Linked DNA regions of Homo sapiens: all the other regions are linked to region 1. Evidence: promoter capture Hi-C in 16 types of primary human blood cells and fetal thymus (Javierre and others, 2016). All regions are on one chromosome and are shown on one strand. The core of a region is centred on a gene start or on the middle of the fragment in contact, and the rest is flanking DNA. Distances in the headings are between cores, read along the strand shown. Region 1 holds the start of CDH6 (cadherin 6). Region 2 has its middle 800 kb from the start of CDH6. Region 3 has its middle 780 kb from the start of CDH6. Region 4 has its middle 730 kb from the start of CDH6.

Region 1 (3,371 bases), core at 397-2,896:
TTCCAACACAGGGAGGAGTTTGCAACCCCCTGGATAATTAACCACTCAGAAAGCCCACATTTTGATCTGCACCCCTCCAGAGCAGCCATATATGTACACAACAGCCACTCCTGCAACATTCTTGCAGGGAAAACCTCTTCCTTCTTTCCCACTGTGTGCTTTACGAAGTGAAAGTGAAGATTCGCAGAGACACGGTCTGATACACCTCTATAGTATGACTATCATCATTTAAATTTTTTTTTTTTTTAATGGGAGTAGGAGACAGAAATGTGTGGCTATTCCAGATGATTAAACTTCTTGGTTCTTGAATGTTCTGAGTCATAGTTAACTCAGGTGGCCAGCCCTTTGCACTGACAGAGACCTGCATTTAACTCCCCATAAAATATGGATTTTATTGCAGCAGTGACACTTCTTAGCACCACGCTGACCTCTCCAGCATCTCCCATCTCGAGATCTACGGTAACTCATGACAGAATATCTAACTACGGAAGAAGTAATCTCAGCTCTGCAACTGCTGCAGTCCACAACATTGCAGCGTCCCTTTTTATTAAATTCTGGGATTAACGCATTGGGGGCTCCAATTTTCCAGCATCTGGCACCGAAAACCAAGCGCACTCCAACCACTCTCCAATCAGTCCGGGGAAGGCTTTATCCCCCAGATTTGAGCCTGGCCAGCCGTGGAGGAGCACGAGCGAACTGCGCCTTCCATATGACTTTTCCCTGGACAGTGTGCTCCATTTTCGGAGTCCAGTGTTGGACTTTCCTTGCAACCTAAGCATTTCTGTCCTAGATGAGCCGGCAGGCGTTGCCCGGAACGTGCAAGCTAACAGTTTTCTTTAGCTCCTTCTACCAGCCAAATCGTCTCTTTAGTTTAAGTTTTCCTTACTGGGAGCATTCCAGAGTTTTCAGACTACCTGATTTTCTGCTTTACCCCAAAAGCTAAGAAATGTAACTCAGCCCAAGCAGTCACCACGCAGACCCTTATGATGCGGGCAGGTGGAGATAAATCAAGCCCCAAACGGCTCGGCGGGACCTGCACGCACCAGCGCCCTTTGGTAATTGACCAGCCAACTTTGCAAATGCCAGAGCTCCCCTGGCAGCCTCTGCCGGCGTAGAGAAAGGCAGCGGGTTCTTCTGCGGCGGCCCGCTTCCCGGTGCCCCCACCCAGCCCCACGGCGGATCGGTCTTACCAGGAGGCGGAGGAGCGGTGCCCAGGCTCCCCGGGAAGCGGCGTCGGTCCTGAGCAGCGGCAGCAGCGCCGCCCGCGCAGCCGGACCCGCGCGCCCGCCCCGACCCGGGCTCGCAGGCTGAGAGCATCCCTCCCAACTCCGGCGCGGCACCCACCGGGCGGAGAGGGCTCTCTCTCTGATTGGCTTCTATCAACGCTACAGAATTAAAAAAAAAAAAAGGGAGATGTATGCATAGCCAACGGAGCCCGAACCCACCTCTGCTCGCCTTCCTGCGCCCGCGGAGACCCTGCGACCCGCCCAGGCTGCTCCTGCCTCCGCCGCCGCCGCCGCCGCGGTCGCCGGCTCTGCCGTTCTTGCTGTCGCGGCTGAAACTGCAGCTCTTGGGATGCGAAGGTTACGGGCTCGGGAGAGCTGGCTCTTGTGGGCACACACTGATTTGCAAGTGAATGAAGTGGGAGGGAGCAAAGAGAGGAGGACTTTGTTAAAGAGGCCCAGTGCCTGCCCCCGCCCGCCCCCTCCCCTTGACAGAATGACTCCCAGTGTTTGAAGTCCTGAGCAATTCGCTCCCTGGAACACTCCTTCAGCCCCAGGCTTTCCCTTGCTTTCTTTCTTTCTTTCTTTCTTTCTTTTTTTTGTTGGAGGGGGTTTAAGATATACTCAGAACTTGTATGACTCCGTCTGTTTCCTCTTTTGTACTATCAAAATGCACCTTGTGCTATTATCAGCAATGGTCTGATGTTCTTTTTTTTTCACCGACCAAGCAATTACAATTCCCAGGGACACAGTACCTCGTCACTCTATCAGTTGGCCAGCTTCGTGTGATAGCACGTATAACATGCACACACATAAAACAAGCCGGTCTCCTGAGATGACAATACCGATGGCTTTTCTTTACAACATAAACAGGCGTTCTCCAGATGCAAGCAGACATGGATAGATTCATACATGTCTTTCCTTCTCTCCTCCCAGGAAGACACGCTTTCACGTAGCCCCATGATCTCTGTTACTCTTTTGGAGTGACCCCAGGATGTCGTAGCATGAAGCCATGCTTCCCTGGGCTTGCAGAAACACTGAAAACCCAAACCCTTCAGGCTTGCCAATGACTTATGACTGATGCCATCGTTCTAAATGAATTGATACAAGCATACAAAAGACTTGCAGAAGAGGGGTGTACAATGATATTCAAGGTCTGCTTAACGTTCGAAGATCCTTCTGGAAAGTTGCCGAAGTTGGATAACCTTCAAATTAAACTCTTTAGTACACATAGCTGTTTGAATGGCTAGATTGATAGTTACAAAGAGGTAATATCTAATGTTAAGGTACTAAGCCACAAAAATGTGAAACATGTCAAAGTACCATTAAATGAGAGTAATGATTTTCTACATAGGAGACATAGGCATGATGGAGTCAGCCACTGTTGGATTAGGAAAATTAAATCTAATTACCACAGTGATTGCACCCAGGGTCACTAGCCTCCCAAACCAGCTGTTCGCCTGTGCTGCAAGTTCTCAGGGAGATTTCCATTGCACAGAGCTCTAAGAAATGCCAGGCTGCTTGGCCTCTGAGTAGTTAAACTGGCTGGAGGTTGGTCCTGTTCCCAACTGAGCTCTTACTAGAAAACCTTTTGTTTCTCCAATAGAAGTTCAGGCATTTAAATAAAGCCCAAATCAAAAGTATTCCTTTAGGCAGCCAGTGCTTCAAAGAAGTGTGCATGGAATGGTTTTAGCACAGATGTTCTGCACATGGAAGATGGAAAGATTTGAGTTTCTTTCTGGAAAAGACCTTCCCCAAATGAAGAATTGCTACCAATTTGTGAGAAGAGGCTGAACATTTTCTTTTTATAGAGCTCTTTAAACACGTATGAAGTAAGAATGGGGGAGAAGAAAGCTGCTTTAGATTCATAGTCCATTCGTCAGATTATGAATTTCTTATACATTTAATTGGAAATATTAGCTCTGTGTGTCTGTGTAGTCCTTTACTGTTTACAAAGTACTTTTGTAGACTATTTTATTTAATTCATCCTTCAATAAGTGGTGTCATATTTTCCCAATTAAGACAGAGAAAACAGACTGATGAAGAGACAACAGAAGTTACATAACATGTCCAAGGCAGTGAAACTGGAACACACAAGAAGCAGAAATATTATTGGTAAAAGGGTGTGCAGGTGTGTATGCAGACATA
Region 2 (3,371 bases), core at 413-2,912, 800 kb after region 1:
TGAGCTCAGGGAGTCACCCGCAGTTATTCTAGTCTTCTCAGCTGAGGCCCAGATAGTCTAAAGCAGAGAAAAGCTTATTTCCTGTGTCTCTGTGTGAATTTAGGAGCTTAACAAAATGGTGGTTGTTTTATCCCTCTAAGTTTGGAGGTGTTTTGTGATGAAGCAATCGATAACTGAAAGACCTAGCACTTTAGGAGGCCGAGGCGGGTGGATCACGAGGTCAGGAGATGGAGAACATCCTGGCTAACAGGTGAAACCCCGTTTCTACTAAAAATACAAAAAATTAGCTCGGCGTGGTGGTGGGCGCCTGTAGTCCCAGCTACCCGAGAGGCTGAGATAGGAGAATGGCGTGAACCCGGGAGGCGGAGCTTGCAGTGAGCCAAGATAGCGCCACTGCACTCCATCCTGAGCGACAGAGTGAGACTCTGTCTCAAAAACAAAAAACAAACAAACAAACAAACAAAAAACTACCTAGAATCAGAGCATAGCCACTTAAATGATCTCCTGCATCCATTTTGCCATTACATCACTTATGAAATGGAAATCCGAGTTAAATTTTAAAATGGCAAGTCTGATCGTATTTCACCCTTTTACAATCTTTAATTGGACTTTCAATGCTCTAAGCAAAACAGAGAAAAATATTCATTGTGGCTTACAGAACTTTCTCTGGTTTCTACACTTGCTTACCCTGTTTATACAGATCAGGTGAGGCTACTCTGCTATATACTCTTACAAAATACATATTTTTAATCATTATTCTAATTATAATTTTACATGCATTTGTGAGATTATGTGACTAGTGCTGTTCTCTTATTAAGCTCTAAATCTTTGAGGGCAAGGACTGTTTCAGGTTCTGGTCATGATTTTATCCCAGGCACCCCGCCCACTGCCTCGCCTAAAGTATGTGGTCAATAAATACTCCTTATTGCAGGTGTTTTTGAAAAATAGTAACCCAGAGAAAATCTGAAGTGGCATTTTAAAAGGACCTGTTTGAGCTCAAAAAAGGATGGCTTCAGATGCTAGAAAGAGGAGAGAAAAAAGGAAATAGAGAAAAAATCTTAAAAAGGCTGCTTTTAGTAAATACTTGTTTAAGTAAATACTTGTTTGCAATTTATGTGAGAATTTATTGGAGAAGATCGAGGTAGGGTTAGATCAATTGATCATTGAGCAAATATAATTCCAGGACTCCTAAATGAAAAGTAGAGGAAAACACAATTTGCCAGAATTTGTGCAGGAGAGGAGTTAAGATGGAATTAATAATTTTTAGAGAAGGGAGATTTTGACATCTGCTTCAAACTAACAAGACTCCCAAACAAGAACAATTTTGATACTGTCACTTATATGCCTATCACAATTACAACCATATAAAAAGATGCATGTCTATGGCATAATAAAATACTTAAACTTGCCAAATGGAATGAGGCAGGAGTGTCAATCAAAACACTCACTATATTACGGAATTTTTTTTCTTGTATTAATGACGCTTGATAAAAAAAAAAACAGGAATCTATGTGACAGAACAGATTTTTAAAATTAAGCTGGGTGCACTTTTGCTGAAATACTAATTCTAATAAGGATATAGAAAAATTGGAGTTTTGAACACAGGGCACTTTGCAGTTAAGATGTATCACCTGATGCCACTGAGAACAACAATATAGGAATTTTAAAGATTCATAGAAGTGACAATATAGCTAAGATGATTTAACATTACTAGTTCAAGACAGATGTGTCCAATAAAACATTGTATTTATCATATCAATTGGATATTTCTTTGATGGAATCTATTTTGAACAGTAATGAATTAAAAGTTAAAGAAAATATGAAATCAAGGTGAAGCATGTCACAAATGTCTTTGTGATGATTTCCTGTCTACGATTATATCACCTAACTTACTGAATGGTTGGTCAAGTAACTAAAAGTATGAAACTACCCTACTGATTTATTTCTACTTATTTGGACAAAAAGGAAAGACTCTTCTGTGGAATGAGCTGTGGTTGTGGGAATAGAAGGGAAATCCTGCCTAGACAGTGAGTGAAGGAAAAAGAAAATGAAAATAGTTGCCAGAAATACAGGAAAATAAAATAAATTAAATGATTGGCGCCCTAAATTTGAAAGGCGTGGTGTTGGAATGCTTTTATTTGTGGAAGAAAATAAATATAATTTCTCGTTTCAACTTATCCTCATACTAGCACAGTGGCATTATTGTTATTGCTGGTATTATTCCACTTCAGTAATGGTAATTGTAGCAGCAGCAGTAGTACTAGCATTAATAACAGTAATTGTAGTAGTAACAGTAGTAGTTTTTATAACAACACAAGTGGTTTTCTAGTACTGGTTTTCTAGCACTAGTGGTGGTAGAGGTGGTAATTTTTATTATTGTTATAGAATTCAAATTCATAGCAGGGATCAAATGATACACTGAAAAGGCTTGATTGAAGACAGTTTCATGAAGGATTATCTATAGTTTCATGGACCGAATACATGGAACCAACAGGAGACAACCAAGAGACTAGCAACATTAAAAGCAGTCTTGAGCCTGGTCCTAGGGAGGAATGTGAACTGAGTGAGTGAGAGTTAATATCATAGATGAGCCATGTACAGGCCTGTGACTCAAGATAACCGATGTTAGCTACTTGATGGAAGCAACTCAGGTGTAGGGGTGATAAATACTTCAAATACTCTTTCCTCCTGCTGTCTGATGTCCTGGAATGCCTCCCAAGGGCAGCCAACAGAAAGCCACGGACAAGTTTGCTCAAGTGTTGCATTCCACAGACAGCAACCTCCCAGGGCATGAAACAGGACAGAGAAGGGTAGAAAAGGAATTTGGAGGAGCAATGGGAGAATGAAGAACAACAATAGACTGCATTTAGTTTGCAGTTACTGTATATCACATGCTGTTCAAGTTCATTTACATGCATTATCTGATCCATAATCAACATTGTTATTAACCTTGATTTACAAATAGTAACAACCTCATAAAATGAGTTGATAATAACCCCATTTCATGTACGGGTCAGATGTAGATTACTTTGTTTAAAAGTTTCAACATTACCCTCTGTAGGAATTCAAGCCTCAAATTATGAAGTTCTTCATTTTAAAAGAATTGCTTCCCTTTGTGTGAGTTAAGGATAATAAAAAATGGAGATAGAATTGACAAATATTTAGTTGGCTAAAGGAAGCTGCAAAAGAAATTAGGGGGAGCTGTAGTACTAAATTGAAAGGGGAAAGAAAGTAAAGAAAGTAAAGCTTCATATAGACAAGTTCAGACACAGCAGTTGAGTTTCTTAGAGACTCAAGGTTCTTTACTTTTCTATATAGAAGAGAAGAGCACACATACCACGTTGTTTCTCCATAAAACACCAAAGTGCTCT
Region 3 (3,371 bases), core at 270-2,769, 780 kb after region 1:
TCAAATATTTCTTCTGCAGTGTTCGCTTACATTTCCTTCTGGCATCCCAACTTTGTTTGTGCTATACTTTTTCAGATTGTCCTACAGTTTTCTGATGTTTTCTTCATTTATTTTTTTCATTGTTTTCTTCTCTTTGTATTTCAGTTTGAGAAGTTTCTATCGACGTATCTTCACCTACTCCTCAGTGATGTCCATTCTATTGCTAAGTTGATTGAAGGCATTCATCATTTCTGTTACAGTAGTTTTGATCTCTAGCATTTCCTTTAGATTATTTCTTAGGTTTTCCATATCTTTGCTTATATTACCAATCTGTTGTCTCCTTTTTCCATTTAGACCTTTAACATATTAGTCATATTTTAAATTCCTGTCTGATAATCCTAAAATGTGAGTCTTATCAGTTTAGTTCTAATACTTGCACTATCTCTTCAGACTGTTTTGTTCTGCCTTTTACATTGCCTTGAAACTTGTTCTTGATATCCAGGCAATGGGATCTAAGGTTAATAGGCCTTTAGTTGAAAATTTACGTTCATATTGGTAGGAGATTTGTTGAATGTTTGCTGTGGGTATATCTAGAGGCTTCAACCACCTCTAGTGACCTTGTATTTGTCGTTCTTTTTATCTGTGCCTTACAACTCTTTCAGCTGTTTTCCATTATTATTATACTGGAGCCTTGATAATATTGAGCTAGGTGTTGTGGAAGGTGAGTTTTACATATTTATTTCAGTTAAATCTCAGTCTTTTATTTGTCAGTTGTTTGTTACTTTCACCAGTGTTTCTAGTTTGATGAGACAGAAAGCTTAGGAACTAGTGGAGGGAAAGAATGCTCTTCCTTCATCTGACTGGGGCAAGTCTCTGGCAGCCTTTTCCCCTGGAGAGTCGGCCTTTTAAATGGAAAAGGCTCTGGGTGCACTTCCCAAGGATTGCTCTTCCTTTCCTCCTACTCCAAGCACAAAGGACTATTTCCTGGATCTTCCCTACAAAAACCTGGTACATTTCCTAAAGGTAAAATTCATAAAAGTGTGGGGACTCCGCTTCACCTGTACCTTTCAGGATTTTTCATTTATACAGCAGTTCCTACTTAGCATCCAGAAATCTCACAAATTCACCACTTCTGTATTATTACTAGTCTATGTCTCCAGCAGCTTCTCTTTCAGATAATCAGATTTTGAGTGTGACTTTTCTCGATTCACTTGTCTTTCCAGATTTCAGGGTGGTAATTTGCCCTGCAAACTCATTTCTCTGTGTCCAACAAAAAAAATCATTGGTTTTCAGTTTGCTTGCTTTTCTTCATGTTGCAAGAATGAAAGTGAGAACGTCTAACCTTGTTACATGTTGGAGCTAAAATGGGAAGTTCCAACTAGCTTTAAAATTCTTTTTTGTCTTCTTCTTTTTCTGTGAGAATGCTCAGTTGATAGTGGCCTCTAGTGGAAATTACTATTTCCTCGTCCCTCTCCTTATGCTTTATCTTCATCTTCCTTGTGAAAGTTCTTACATGGTTACCTGAATTTTTAAAAATATTGCTTTAGTATTACTTTATTTTTGGCATTTGTACTCCCTTCTGTCTCCTGTTTTGCTGTTGGAAATCTCTGAATTGCATCATGGCAACTTCCCTATTCAAGTGTCCTTTCTTCCAGCCTATAATATGGTAGCTGAACACTGATTTAAAATAGAAAATTTTAACTCAGGTCTTTGAGTAAAATTAATTCTGTTGATTATTTCTAGGCTTTCTTTGGGTGAATTTCTTGAAATATTCTAATTATGAGGTTTAGGTGTATTTACTTATTTATGCTTGCTTTCTTTTCATTCCTTATCACCATATTTCCATGTGTATAAATCACATGAATGGAAAAATTACTAACACAAACCCTTTCTTGAAATCTTCTTTGATACTTCAGCTTAACATTTTCAAAATTATGCTAATAAATGAGCACAAAGTAATTGTTAAAAGACATAAAGTTCTGATCTTTTGTTTCTTTTGGGTCACACTCATATATTTATACTCTATTCCATTAATTAAAAAAATTATAGAAAAAGAGACATTTGAAAATTCATAAGCTCTGATAAGATTTATGCATGTTTTTGAAAGGGACAATGGATATAAAAGTGAATTGTGGCAAAACTTTGAAAAAGAGTCACATTTTTATGGGGCTAAAATTCTTTAGATACTGAAGAAAGAGAAGATTCCGGGCTTGTCCTGTCAATTGTTGTATGGCATCTGCAGTATGCTTTGTTACTAAGCTTGTAAATGAGTAAAACATGTGTTCTTTTAATCCTCTGGGTAGTACTTTATTACTGTAGTAATGATTACAATGAATCTGTGGTGGCCTGAAAGGGGTAGTACATAGTCTATATTATCTCTGAAAGCAACATATAGAGAATATGTGAATTAATTTAGTTTGGTGGAGATTCTGGGTAAATTCCAAAAGTGGATTAGTGAAACAATTAATTTATCTTTTCAAAAAAATGTTTAAAAATATACAATACAAGCGTATCATTTCAGGTTACTAGTACTTTAAAACTAAATGAAAATGTTGCAATATAATGATATTTCAATAAGAAAAAAGTCTATTTGCAAACTAATGCAGTAGAATACATACATCCTTATTCTACTTTGTATATCACCTATAAGAAGGTCAATCACAAAGTACAAAGGATTAATTATATTCAGATTACCTGATACATTGTTCTAGGCAATTACTTTTAAAATATTTGCAAGAAAGCCCTCAAAGTGCAAATAATTTATATTCAGCTATGGTTTTTAAAAATGAGAACACTTAAAAAGTATATTTTAAGACTTGATACATTTATGTTCTGATATTTGACACATAATTATCTCAGTTGTTGGTAGATTTCACTAAATTTGGTATTGAAATGAAAAAATAAAGCAAATACAAAAACTGCATAGATACTAAGAAGAAATCAGGTAAAGAAAAATAATATTTTCCAAGTCCATATGTTTTAAATATATTATGTCTGATATAGCAAATATAATGTTAGTGTTTAAAACCTGAGATAAAATTTTCTTAGAGATGTAGTAATATTTTTATAACATACAGATATGAACATAAAATACAACATTCTCAAGAAAAACTCAAAGTTAAGAAGTTAAATTTTTTTAAATAAAAAATGCCAGAGAAGTATAATATTGTTCTCAGTGAAACACATCAAATCTAGTATAGAAAAAATCATTTTTTCACGAGTTCAATTTTAAAAATTGGAAATTAATTAAAATGTAATTTCTTTAAAAAGAAAAACTCAGATATTGACAATCAGGCTAGGTCTAGTTTCTAGATTAATATAGTAAATGCTTATGTCAAGTATTATTTTCATTGGAAAATTTTCATTCAATTATTTTTTGTGTGTTTAGTGAA
Region 4 (3,371 bases), core at 321-2,820, 730 kb after region 1:
CATCTTGATAACATAATTCTCTAACTTTTCTTTCTTGTAGTGTCTTATCAGGTTAGTTATCACGGTTAAGCTGATCTCATAAAAACTTTTTCATGTAAGTGTTTCTATTTTTTTGTGCTCTGATTAATTGTTTGTAAGATGGATGTATTTTCTTCTGTAAGAGTTTCATAGAATTTACAAGCAAAACCCATTGGGTTGGTGTTATTTTGATAGTCTTTAAATGAAAATATAACTGAAAATTATTATTTTTCAAAATTTTGATTTAGATTTCTGCCAGTTTTAATAATGTGCCCTTTTCTGGGAACTTAATCTAAATATTGAAGTTAATTGATATATAATTTTTCAAATAATCTTATTTTTACAGGAGTTTTGCTAATATTTCCTTTATCATTCTTGATATTAGTTATTTATGCCTATCTTTTGTCTTTTTAATTTTGTCAAATAATTTTTACCATTTAACTCATTTATAAAATAATAATTTTTCATTTGTTGATCTTCTTCATAGTATATTTATTTTATATTTTATTATTTTTACACCTATATTGATTATTTTTTCAATTGCTTGGTTCAATTTAATGTTGTTCCTTCATAACATACATGTACAGAAGACTAATTTTTTGTCATTTTGGAAATCATATTTTATTATTTAAATCCTTTGTAACTCCTAAGACTTGTCTTCTGACCCAACATATGATTAATTTTGCTAATTTTTCCATTCTGACTTAAAAATCAAAGTATTCTATGTCGGAATGTGCTATTATACATAGACTAATTAGTTCAAGCTTGCTATTGATGCTGTTAAATTTTTATAACTATTTACTGAGTGTTGGTATTCTTATTCTATAATGTGAAAAATACGTTTTAAAGGCTTTTTGTTCTGTTTGTGAATTTGTCCAGTTCCACTTTTATTTCTGTCAAATTTTCTTTGATTAGTATTACCTAAATTAGAATTTAACCCCTTTGGGCATTGTCACTTTTATTATTAGACATATTCCTCTTATACTCTAATAGTGCTTCTTGCCTTAAAGTCTAACAATTTGTATAATATTACTGTAGCTTTCTTTGAGTTAAAATGTATACAGTATACTGCATCTGTCCTTTTATATTTAACATTTTTATATTCTTTTTAAAAAGTTGTGTCTCTTTTAAGTGGCAAATGGCACTTATTTATATTTCAGTTAGAATATTTTAACCATTAGCATTTAGTGTAATGAAGATATTTTTATTTATGTATACAATCACATTCTTATGTATTCATCAGAGGTATTTAATGTCCCTTTTTTCTGTCCTTTCTTCACATTTATAAATTATAGTTTTAGAATTTATTTATTTGCTCTTAGTTTTTTGTTTCTGTATTCTTTTAGAACAATCATCCCTCAGTATCTGTAAGGGATTTGTTCCAGGATCCCCCTTGGATACCAAAATTTGGGATATAGTATTTGCATGTAACTTACACACATCCTCCCATGTACTTTAAATCATTTCTAGATTACTTGCAATACTTACTTTAATGTAAATGTTATGTAAATTGTTGTTATACTGCATTGTTAGGGAATAATTACAAGAACAAGTCTGTAAATGGTCAGTATAGTTGTACTTATATTTTTGTTTCTTTGTGGAAATACATTTGATCTCCATCGGTTGACTCCATAGATGTAAAAAGCATGAATATGACTGGACAATTATATATTAGTATTATTTTCTTTGAGGTTACAAGATCCATCCCTGACTATGAAAGAATATTATAAATTAGTATTTTATTGTGTATTTTGCTCCATTTAACCTCTTCTGCCTTGAGTTCTCTTGTTCAGTTAAAACTTTATTGAATTTGTAACCTCACAATATATTGTTATTAATGGTACTGGCTTGTTATGTTTGGTCAAATATTTGAATTTTTATTTCTTTCATTTCTTTCTTTTTTTAAACTCCTTTTTTATTTTATATTTCCACATAATTAAATTGTATTAATTTCTTTCTATTGGTGGTAACATGCTGTCACTTTCTTTGGTTGCTTGAAATATTTTTTTTCTTTATTGTCCAAAGGTGTTCACAATGGACATAGCATTTAACATTTTTCATTACTATTTTGAATCACTTAAAAGTTGTCTTGTACTCTAGATTGGCCATTATTTTTCAAAAATTGTTGTGACGATGTCATTCCTTTGTCTTTCATATTTTGTTTTCTTTTGTTTGTTTCTTTTTTTGTGAAGTTAGTTCTCAGTAAAATCATTTACTTTGGAAGGTTATAATCCCACCCCGCACCATTTGGGTTCTTTTAGTTTTCTTTTTGTGTTTGGTTTTCAGCAATCTTTAATGATGTGCCAACGTGAAAGTTTTATTTATTTAAAAAAAGCTTGAAGAAATTTACCCTTCCTGAAGTTTATAACTGTTCTTGAATTTGTATCTTGATGCATTTTAAAATATTACTTCTGTATCTTTGTTTATATTTCATATAACTAAGAATAACATTATTATTATTGTTATTATTGAGGCAGAGTCTCACTCTGTTGCTCAGGCTTGAGTGAAGTGGCTCGATTATGGCTCACTGTAGCCTCAACCTTCTAGGCTCAAGCAATCCTCCCACCTCAGCCTCCCTAGCTGGCACTACAGGCATGTGCCACCATGCCTGGCTTATTTTTGTATTTTTTGTATAGATGAGGTTTCACCATATTGCCCAGGCTGGTCTCAAACTCCTGAGCTCAAGCAATCTGCCTGCCTTGGTCTCCCAAAGTGCTAGAAATACAGGTGTGAGCCACTGCATCCAGCCCACAATAACATTATTTATGTACTTGTTTTACTGACCTCTGCCAACTTTTCTCATCTTTTCTCTTGATTTTGTGACTATAAATCATTTTTTTAAAAGTCTTTGGCTGATAACTCCAATAACTGCTTCTTACCCTAGGTCAAATTTTACTGTTTGTTTTGACTGAATGTTAAAACTTAAGTCTAATCTTTCTGTACTCTGAGTGGTTTTGATTAAAAGCTGGACATTATTTAAGAAAACTAGAAAACAAATGTAATGTTCTGGATGGTGCGATAGATTGGATATTCTCTCAAGAAAGAAGCTAAAGTGAAATCAATATGTATTAAGATTCTAAAGTTGTCTTAAATTACTTAACTAGGATTTGCTTGGGCTTGATTAATTTGAATCTATGGATGGGTCCATAAGTTCTATTAACCTACTGGAATTATGAGCAAATTATTTTATCTGTGTTTGCTTTTAAGTACATGGGCCCTTGGAGAAAAGTTTAACTTTCACTGGTTGCACTAAAGGTTCATTAATGAAAAAGCTTTAAGAACAATCTTTAGGTAGGTTGATTACCTAGTTTTAGAATGAAATTTTCCAACCAGACTTGAATATGTAATGAAGA

What was found. The method cuts DNA at HindIII sites, captures the fragments that hold promoters and counts their contacts. A CHiCAGO score of 5 or more calls a contact.
Region 2: a contact is called between a fragment that was not itself captured here and the fragment with the promoter of CDH6 in region 1, in 2 of 17 cell types (M2 macrophages and M1 macrophages). The highest score is 8.2, in M2 macrophages.
Region 3: a fragment that was not itself captured here is called in contact with the fragment with the promoter of CDH6 in region 1 in 3 of 17 cell types (M2 macrophages, M0 macrophages and M1 macrophages); the score reaches 9.1 in M2 macrophages.
Region 4: a fragment that was not itself captured here is called in contact with the fragment with the promoter of CDH6 in region 1 in 1 of 17 cell types (M2 macrophages); the score reaches 6.4 in M2 macrophages.

Annotation. Positions count from the first base shown.
Region 1 is chr5:31,191,961-31,195,331 of GRCh38, reverse strand. It overlaps CDH6 (cadherin 6), which reads right to left and starts at 1,646. Exons shown (of 12, transcript NM_004932.4): 1 at 1,446-1,646. The HindIII fragment of the contact is 5,513 bases long and covers 1-3,371 here.
Region 2 is chr5:30,389,603-30,392,973 of GRCh38, reverse strand. No RefSeq gene overlaps it. Among named protein-coding and RNA genes, the nearest start is that of CDH6, 800 kb to the left of the region's middle. The HindIII fragment of the contact is 3,173 bases long and covers 76-3,248 here.
Region 3 is chr5:30,411,788-30,415,158 of GRCh38, reverse strand. No RefSeq gene overlaps it. Among named protein-coding and RNA genes, the nearest start is that of CDH6, 780 kb to the left of the region's middle. The HindIII fragment of the contact is 1,442 bases long and covers 799-2,240 here.
Region 4 is chr5:30,460,777-30,464,147 of GRCh38, reverse strand. No RefSeq gene overlaps it. Among named protein-coding and RNA genes, the nearest start is that of CDH6, 730 kb to the left of the region's middle. The HindIII fragment of the contact is 1,571 bases long and covers 785-2,355 here.